2 separate regions of the Homo sapiens genome follow, and region 1 is linked to region 2. The links are contacts of gene promoters, found by promoter capture Hi-C in blood cells and fetal thymus (Javierre and others, 2016). All regions are on one chromosome and are shown on one strand. The core of a region is centred on a gene start or on the middle of the fragment in contact, and the rest is flanking DNA. Distances in the headings are between cores, read along the strand shown.

Region 1 (4,491 bases), core at 1,024-3,523, 70 kb after region 2:
GCCATGCCACTGTGTCTGCAGAGGCACATGTCTTGCTCACCCACTGACACACACTGAACTGGGCAGGGCGGCCCTAAAATAGCTCAAGGTTGGTCAGGGTGAACCCAGCTCCTTGGAAAATAGTTGCACAACAGATCAGCTCCCCCGGTTTCAGGGCTGAGGTGGGGGATGGAATCATTAGTTGGCAGTAAATGAAGTTGACCTAGTTCACCCATCCCCCAAAAAGGAGTGAGACCTTCATGCAGAGGCTTCCAACGTGGAAGTGAGGAGCATACTCAAGAGTCTAGGTCTAGGTCTAGACCCATCACTACCAACTTATTTTGTGACCTAGAGGACATCAACTCCCCTCTTTGGGTCTCAGTTTTCCTTTCTGTGAGAAAAAAAGGACAGTATCATTTCAGCTATGATTGTGGGGTGCAGTTGCTTTGGGGAGCCCTTAGTAGGCAAACTGCAGCTTGTCTGGTGGAGATGGGGGTAAGACAATGCTCGCAGAACTAAGGAGAGAGAAGCTTGGGGAACAGGAATTTGTAATGTGGGGAAGCTGAGTCTAAATGCAGTACGGTGAAGTAGGTGCAAATAAGAGTGAAGTGGAAAGGAGTGAGAAGGGTGGTTAGGGGTGAGGTCTCTTTAGGGAGTGTAAAACAGAAGGCCATGAAAGGTCAGGAATGGCTCCATGTTACTTTGTTTTGGTGATGGGGGAGGGGGCCGGGCAGGCGGACCGGAAAAGGAGGCAGGCGGGGGCGGTGAGTCAGCCCAGCTTCACCCAGATCTCGGCGGGGCGGGGCAGGGCGGGAGCTGGGCCCTCAGCCGGCCTCACGTCCCTGCTCCACGTGTGCCTCTCGCACGTGGCTCCCCAACGAGGAACCCCGGAACTCGAGGCCCCGCCCTCCTCGCTTCCCGTCAATCGAGAGCAGTCGCCCCGCCTCCTACCCGCCCTTCCCCGGCCACCAGGTCGTGGGCTGGACCCCGAACGATAGCAGGGCCAGGACAACCTAGGGGAGGAGAGAAGGGAACACGCGTTGCCGGGGCGACCGGGGGGGCGGAGCTCATTATGTAACGAGGCCGGGAGGCAACGACCAATGGGGTGGCAGCCACGGCTTCTGCTGAATGAAAACAAACGCAGCACGTGGGCCCGGCTCTAGAGCCATGTGAGCCCTCCCGGCGGCCGGAGCCCTGTAGGTGCCCTCCCTCGGGCCGGGCACCACGCTCTGGACTCCTCAAGTGTCGCTCCCTCCTGTCACTGAGGATTCCCCAGTGAGATCCGAACGATTCTCCCAGCCCCTCCTTCCCTGAACCCCATCGCGCCACTCTTCTCAGATTCCCTCGCGCCTGCAGGAACTAGAGGAGGGGGAAGACAAGAGGGGAGGGGGTCCGTTTTCTGAGGCCAGGCATACTACAGCTGCAGGTAGTGGACAGATGGGGCCGTTTCGGGGCACTGTTCCAAAGCTCCCAGTCCCCCTAAATTCTTCGCTTCACCACCCGTACCTCCTCTCCATTTCCTCCTGCCCAGGGATTCGAGGCTCAAGGGAGCTTTGGGACTCTGAGGGGTGGTGATGGGGCGTTTCTGAGAGCATTTCCAGCCCGAACAAGCCGCTCTGGAAATCCCACACTAAAGCACCGCAGCACGTTAGCAAATCTCCGGGCCGAGGGACACCCCAGTCCCTTACAAAGTTCCTCTTTTTATAAGGCGTAGATGGAGGTGGGGAGACAGTGACAGGGAAAAGATGATAGTAAAGAAATCTCAGTACCTGTGTTGTTGTTGGAGTCCAGGGTCGTCATGTCTTCACCAGCTGAGAGCGGTCATTCAAACTGGACCTTGACTCAAACTAGAGGTTGCGATCGCCGCTGTTGCCCCCTGGGCACTGGCTAAGGGCGGGGAGTGGACCCCGCGACTCACGATCAGGATCCGAAGCACCCTGCAGCAAGGTCTTGGGGTGGCCGGACTGCAGCCCTGCAGAAGGGTTGGACGTTGAGGCAACGGAGTTCTGCTTTGCATGGGAAGAGCAGAGAGAGTGTGTAGGGGGAATCAGCCTGCAGTAGTTCTGGCTAGAAGGTAGCAAGGAGGGTCGGGTCTCTGCAGTGTACGGGGTGCCTCTGCCTGCCGGCTCCGCAGCGCTGCGGGGTGGCGAATCTGGAGCTCCCGGTGCAAAAGTCCCAGAGGAAGAGAGGTTGCAACCAGGAAGTAAGTAGGTGATGGGGAGAAACGGGGCACCGAGTCGCAAAGAGGCGAGACGTGTGCCCTGCTACGTTCCCTCGGCAGTAATATTTCACTCTGCCAATCTCAGCCGCCTTTTGCCCGAGCCTTTCCCTGGGACAGAGGGCTCTGCGCAGGCGCCAGCAGCCCAGGGTTCCCGGGCCGCACGCGGCACTGGAGCAGGTACCATGTGATCCCAGGGAGCGCCTCGTGCCCCAGTGACACACTTTTCCAACAGCCGGCACGTTGAGCTCTTGCGCGCCTGCGCAACGACAAGACTGTCGGGATTTGTAGTCCACCGACAAAGTGGGCGGACTGCGTGCCTTTCCCCTTTCTGCCTGGCAAAGCGCTTGCCGGGACCTGGGAGGAGCTGAGAGTGGGGTGGGGTGGGGTGCGCTGAAGAGTCAGGGTGGCGTGTTTAGAAAGCCTGTATGGCAGGGGCATGTGAATTTCTGGGGAGGGACTGGCAAGCTTGTTTGCTGTCTGGGAGATCAAAGCTAAGAGGCCCTTTCTGCAAACCTTGCAAACGTGAGGGCTTCACGTGATTGCAGGACTGACCTCGTCCTGAGGTTACTGGTGACCGGGAGAGAGAGAAGCCGGGGAGGGAGATTTCCCTGGAGTCAGGAGCTTAGGCTGCCCTCTGCTTCAGGGCAAAGTCCAGAGAAGGAAAGGAAATGTGACCCCCTTTCCCTTCTACTCGCCTTAGGGAGAACACCTCCAGGGGAAGGAGTTCCCACAGAGGTAGGGATGTCTGTAGGGACTCCCTGTTTGCTTGTATGACACCATTCCACCCACTCCAGTTGACTTTGGGGTGAGTCATTTCCCTTTGTCTGGGAAATAAAAAGGACAACAGAGGGGAACTAATAGTGAAAGTGCTTTGAGGTCCTAAAGTAATGGGGAAGAGGTGAGGCAGGGGGTGGGGGCAGAGTGACACCCCTGCCCCTCGGTGCTGGAGGATAAAATATGAATTCCACAGAAGATTACTACTCAGAGGGGAACATGTAGATCATCTTAAGCCTCCCTCTTTTTACTAGTGGGGAACAGGAAGCTTAGGAGAAGTGACCGACCCAAGGTCAGACGTCCATTGCTAGTTTCATCTGCCCACCCCGAATGGGAAGGTGGGTAGATGTACAAGTGAAATACTGAACAGGGGTTAGAAACAGCCAGCATTGCCGGGTGCTTTGGCTCATGCCTGTAATCCCAGCACTTTGTGAGGCTGAGGTGGGTTGATCACCTGAGGTCAGGAGTTTGAGACCAGCCTGACCAACACGGTGAAACCACGTCTCTACTAAAAATACAAAAATTAGCCGGATGTGGTGGTGGGTGCCTGTAATCCCAGCTAGTCAGGAGGCTGAGGCAGGAGAATCGCTAGAACCCGGGAGGTGGAGGTTGCAGTGAGCCGAGATCGCCATTGCACTCCGGCCTGGGGGATAGAGTGAGACTCTGTCTCCAAAACAAACAAACAAAAAACAGCCAGTATTTCGCTTCAGAGCAGCAACTGTCCCATGAGTAATAACAGATCTCAAGTAGAGGAGATCTATCATGTTAGAGGGCTTGGGTCATGGAGGGGATGGAAGCTTCTTAGGCAGCGAAGGGAGAGGGAGCCTGAGCCACCTGCTGCTCCCGCTAATTCCTCCCCAGTCCCAGTGCTTCTAGAGAGGGTTTTCTTCACATAGGAAGCCCTTCTCCACAGGCAGCTCCTGGGATGGTATTGATGGATGCCTGGGAAACATGAAAGCCACCGAAAAGGTAGAGAAAAAGAATATGGGAGTCCGGGGGTGGTGGCTGACACCTGTAATCCCAGCATTTTGGGAGGCTGAAGTGGGCAGATCACCTGAGGTCAGGAGTTCGAGACCAGCCTGGCCAACATGGTGAAACCCCATCTCTACTAAAAATACAAAAATTAGCTGGGCGTGGTGGCGCACGCCTGTAGTCCCAGCCACTCGGGAGGCTGAGGCAGGAGAATTGCTTGAACCCAGGAGATGGAGATTGCAGTGAGCCGAGATCATGCCACTGCACAACAGCCTGGGCAACAGGGTGAGAGTCCATCTCAAAGAAAAAAAAAAAAGGCCAAGTGTGGTGGTGGCTCACACCTGTAATCCCAGCACTTGGGGAGGCCGAGGCAGGTGGATCACCCGAGGTCAGGAGTTTGAGACCAGCCTGGCCAACATGGAGAAACCTCGTCTCTACTAAAAATACAAAAATTAGCTGGGCGTGGTGGCGCACGCCTGTAGTCCCAGCTACTCTACTCGGGAGGCTGAGGCAGGAGAATTGCTTGAACCCGGGAGGCAGAGGTT
Region 2 (5,108 bases), core at 1,700-4,199:
CTGCGGGGGCGCAGGCAGTGAGGTGGGGAGAGTTCCGGGTTACCTCCTTCCCTTGAGCCCCCGTCCCGGTCGCTCCCCTCTCTCACCTCTGAACCATAGGTCTGGGCCACATGGCACAGCATGAGGAAGGAGATGTCAAACAGCAGGGCCCGGACGGAGGCCGGTTTGGCTGTGGAAGGACGGGAAGGCTGAGCTCCCAGACGAGGGCAGGGGGGAGCCCGTGTCTGGGTTGACAGGGATCGGGATTTGCCTCTAGGAAGGTCAGGGACCAAGTGGCTCCTTCAAAGCTCTGAGGCTCAGAATCCTTTTCTTGAGTCTCAACTGGAACATCATCCCTTCCTTGAGACCAAAGACCCCCAGCACCCTCTCCTGGCATACCTAACCAAGTCGTAAAGGGATGAGGGGGGGAAGGAGACACAGGGATGGTCTGGGAAGAATCCTTTTCCAGCATTATCCACTTTCAAGCTCTGTGGAAGCTTCCATTGGTCATGGCTCTGAGGAGGGAGCACAGCCTCCCCCTGTTGAGCTGGGGAGCCCTCCTCCCTCCCACACTCTCCCGCCACACCCCTCCTCAGGGCCCACTGGGCCTGCGGATGCACAGGGCTGACTTACTGCTTTCTTCGCTGCCATAGGTTGTGAATTCATTCAAACTGAAAGGAATGGAGACAGGCTGCATTGACCAGGGCATGAGCTGAGCAGTAGCTGGGCGCTGGGGCTACACATGTTCAGAGAGCGATAGCTAGAGTCTGAGTTACTGGTTAAACTTAAAATGAGACACATTGCTATAGAAAAAAGGTTTTTGTGGTTTTTGTTTTTTGTTTTTTTTTTGTTTTTTTTGAGAAAGAGTCTCGCTCTGTCACCCAGGCTGGAGTGCAGTGGCACAATCTCAGCTCACTGCAACCTCCGCCTCTGTTCAAGCAATTCTTCTGCCTCAGTCTCCCAAGTAGCTGGGATTACAGGTGCCCGCCACCACACCCGGCTAATTTTTTGTATTTTTAGTAGAGACAGGGTTTCACCAAGTTGGCCAGGCCGGTCTTGAACTCCTGACCTCAGGTGATCCGCCCACCTTGGCCTCCCTAAGTGCTAGGATTACAGGCGTGAGCCACCGCACCCGGCCAGAAGGATTTTTATTGTTAGAAGATTTCCAAGGCCTAGAGAATGGCTCACTGAATGGAACCATGTTCTATATATGTCAAATTCCAGGGCAATCAAAAAAGGCAACAGAATTTGAGAGCCCCTTATTAATAACTGGGCATACTTGGAATTCCTCCATGCCCAATGTTCAACACCTCAACCCTTACCCTCATCTCTTTACCAAACATGTCCACTCCATCCTCAGCTGAAGAGAAAGGAACACTTAGGTCGTGAGAACAGGCCCTTCCTCCAAGATCTCCAGCCAGGATGCTCTGCCTAGGCCCGTGGGTCTCTGGATGAGACCCAGACCCAGGCACCTGACTCCTACCCTGCTACCTCCTCCCAACGCGCAGCCTCCCTGCACGCCCTGGGGTCAGGGGCTTGGCCTTCCTCACTTGATGAATTTCCGGGCGAAGGATTTCAGCTTTCCAGTGGCGGCGGCGGCAGCCAGCAGCAAGTCCAGACTCTTCCCGGACAGCATGTGGCCCAGGACTCCCAGCAGTCCCTCCGGTGACTTAGAGTGGTCTGCATCCATCGTCTGGGGACAGGACAGGAAATCAAGTCCTGAAGAACACTGAAGACCCCCCACCCAAGATACAGCCTAGCCACATTTTCTCTCTTCACAACCTGGAATGTAATCTACATCTTTCTGACTTCAATCTGGAAAATCATTCCTAAAACCCACCCCTGCTCTCCGATCCATCCCTCTCATCTACACTGGCATGCAGGTGGTAAGGTTGGAGTGGGCAAGGTCACGGCTAGGATCTTCTCTGTCCTTTCCTTTTTTAGACAGAGTCTCGCTCTATCGCTGAGGCTGGAGTGCAGTGGTGCGATCTTGGCTCACTGCAACCTCTGCCCCCCAGGGTTCAGCGATTCTCCTGCCTCAGCCTCCCAAGTAACTGGGATTACAGGCATGCACCACCACACCCAGTGAATTTTGTGTTTTTAGTAGAGACTGGGTTTCACCACGCTGGCCAAGCTGGTCTCAAACTCCTGACCTCAAGGGATCTTCCCACCTCAGCCTCCCAAAATGCTGGGATTACAGGCGTGAGCCACCGCACCCACGTCTCTGTTGTTTCCATGTGAGATGGCCTAAGTGAAAGCGCCTACTGCAGTGCCTGGTGTACAAATGAAGCTCCCACGGGTTAGCATTCAGTGGTAGCTGCCCTTGCCTCCCCTTTCACTACCTCCAAAGCAACTATGTATAAAAGCTAAAGGAGACAGAGGTCTGTGGCCTCTGTTTATTTATCTGCAAGCAGATGGAGCACTGGAAAGAAGAAAGAGAAGACTGTGGTGGCCAGGGAAGGGCACACTCACCTTGAGGATGTTTGTGACAGTGGGCTCCGCCCGGAGGATCAGCTGGATGTTGGGCTGGATGTTGGCATTCTCTCCCGATTTCTGCTGGGGTGCGTGCTCTCGGTCCGCTTTGCTGTGGACATCACCAGTTGGCCAAGGAAGGGAAGAGGAATGAAGAGAAATTCTTGACACGTTCCCTCGTTCAAGCCCGGAAGGAAATGCGCAGAGGAGGTGGGAAGCATGTAAGAACCTCCGAGGTTGGGGTGAAGTTTATGGAAGCATAGTCAATGTTGCAATCACTGATTTAGCATTAGTCTTTTTTTTTGAGACAGGTCTCACTCTGTTGCCCAGGCTGGAGTACAGTGGCACGATCTCGGCTCACTGCAGCCTCTGCCTCCAGAGTAGCTGGGCGCTCACCACCACGCCTGGCTACTTTTTTGTATTTTTAGTAGAGACGGGGTTTCACCATGTTCTACTGGTCTCAAACTCCTGACCTCAGGTGATCCACCCACCTTGGCTTCCCAAAGTCCTGGGATTACAGGTGAGCCAGCACACCTGGCAATTTATCATTAGTCTTTTTTTTTTTTGAGACAGAGTCTCGCTCTGTCACCCAGGCTGGAATGCAGTGGCGCGATCTCAGCTCAGTACAACCTCTGCTTTCCGGGTTCAAGTGATTCTCCTGCCTCAGCCTCCTGAGTAGCTGGAATTACAGGTGCATACCATCGCGCCTGATTAATTTTTGTATTTTTAGTAGAGATGGGGTTTCACCACGTTGGCCAGGCTGGTCTCAAACTCCTGACCTCGTGATCCACCCGCCTTGGCCTCCCAAATGCTGGGATTACAGGTGTGAGCCACCGCAGCCGGCCTATCATTAGTCTTAAATGCTCTGAAAGCACATTTAAGATTAAAGGAAGATTCAGGATTTTTATTTATTTATTTATTTTTTTTTTGAGACAAGGTCTCACTCTATCGCCCAGGCTGGGGTGCAGTGGCATGATTTCGCCTCACCACAATCTCCGCCTCCTGGGTTCAAGCAATTCTCGTGCCTCAGCCTCCAGAGTAGCTGAGATTACAGGCACACACCACCACGCCCAGCTGATTTTTGTATTTTTAGTAGACATGGGGTTTTGCCATGTTGGGCAGGCTGGTCTTGAACTCCTGGCCTCCAAGTAATCCACCCGCCTCCAGCCTAGGATTTTTACTTTTATCACAAAGATGGGTATGAGTTAAAGAGCAGTGACTAAGAGTGTAAAACTCTGGTCTGAAGACATCTGTGCTTTCTTTTCCTTCCTGTTCCCTGTACCCCCAGGCACGGTCCCAGTCACTTGCAGCCCAAACTTTCGACAGGAGGTTGAAAGGCACGCAGCAGCCCCACCGTAACAAGAGAGAGGTCAAGGGGCTCTTGGGGTAGCACAGGTGCGTTCACACTTACCGCTTAGCCATAAGGTTGTTGACGCTGGCCTCAGACAGAAGCCCCTGCTTGCCACATTCTTGGAGCAGGAAGTTTGTACAGTCACAGCTGTGAGGGAGAAAGATGCTGAGGGAACTGGGCACCTGGATAGGATGGTGAGGGGTGGGAGTGGCAGGTCCCTGAGCAGCATCCTCCCTCTTTCAGGATGAGGAAAATCTGGAGTGCCTGAGGGACGGTAGAGGGGCTCTGGGGACTTGGCAACTGTGGGCTCCTATTTCCTGCCCCTGCCAAGGGGAGTGAACAAGGAGACAGAGTCCCCTGAGGCTTCTCTGGCACAGAGATCAGGGGAAGAGCCCAGAACGCCTTCCAGTAGGGCGGGGGTGACCAGGGGAGCTCATACTTGCAGCGCTGGTCAGCTTTGTCCAACAAGGGGGTGAGCTTCAGCAGGAACTCAAAAGCACAGTTGACATCCTCAGTGAAGTCCTAGAAAGAGGCAGAAGTGTCCATCTGGTTTCCAGGGCCACCAGGCCCTGATCATCTCAGGCAACCTTGTCTGCTGGAGGCATCGGCCTGAGTTGCCTGGCTGCTTTCTGCCTGGAGCCTGGGTGTATGTTGTGGGTGCACGCAGACGCTGAAGCACACACACTGGCTGAAGCACACGTACACGCTGAAGCACACACACGCTGAAACACACACACTGAAGCACGCACACACTGAAGCACACGCACATGCTGAAGCACACGCACATGCTGAAGCATGCACATTGTGAAGCACGTGCACGCTGAGGTGTACACTCACATCCGGCTCTCTTCCAGGCATGAGAACACTGCCCAGCTGGGGCCTGAAGGACCCTCCCCTTTGCCCTTATTTCTGCTCCCATGCCTCCATCTCAATCCCCAACTCACCTTGTCTCCATGAGAGTACTTCTTCAACTTCACCAAAACCTGTGGAATCTAGGGGGTGAGGCAGGGGGAAAAACAGGAAGATCCATTTCTTTTCTCTTTCATCTACCCCTGAAGGCATCCCCCCGAACCCCTGCTCCAGGAAGAGAGACAGGAACACTCCTACCCTGGGAGTGAGAGCACACTTAGTGCTAAATGAGAAAGCCAATAGGTGCCCAGGCCCCTGATGCCCCCAGGCCTAGGCACAGGACACAAGCACCCTGCACCTCCGCTAGCTCAACAGAAAAAGATGCCATAAGCAAAAGTGGATCCCCAGCTTCAAGGAGGACTGGGGCCCCTTTCCCTGGCTCCCTTTACTGCCCTGC

Evidence for each region. Contacts are between HindIII fragments. The CHiCAGO score rates a contact against its expected background, and 5 or more counts as called.
Region 1: the fragment with the promoter of NR1D1 here is called in contact with a fragment that was not itself captured in region 2 in 3 of 17 cell types (erythroblasts, megakaryocytes and endothelial precursors); the score reaches 7.3 in erythroblasts.

The regions. Positions count from the first base shown.
Region 1 is chr17:40,098,316-40,102,806 of GRCh38, forward strand. NR1D1 (nuclear receptor subfamily 1 group D member 1) reads right to left here and starts at 2,274. Exons shown (of 8, transcript NM_021724.5): 1 at 1,749-2,274. The coding sequence starts at 1,779. RefSeq lists silencers at 1-215, 739-1,088, 1,099-1,188 and enhancers at 418-1,617, 536-1,520, 1,521-2,504, 1,970-2,039, 2,520-2,639. The HindIII fragment of the contact is 2,156 bases long and covers 508-2,663 here.
Region 2 is chr17:40,027,297-40,032,404 of GRCh38, forward strand. It overlaps MED24 (mediator complex subunit 24), which reads right to left. Exons shown (of 26, transcript NM_014815.4): 10 at 4,747-4,794; 11 at 4,242-4,324; 12 at 3,863-3,949; 13 at 2,452-2,563; 14 at 1,530-1,672; 15 at 613-650; 16 at 87-169. It overlaps SNORD124 (small nucleolar RNA, C/D box 124), which reads right to left and starts at 349; the gene lies at 246-349. RefSeq lists an enhancer at 1-261. The HindIII fragment of the contact is 4,950 bases long and covers 475-5,108 here.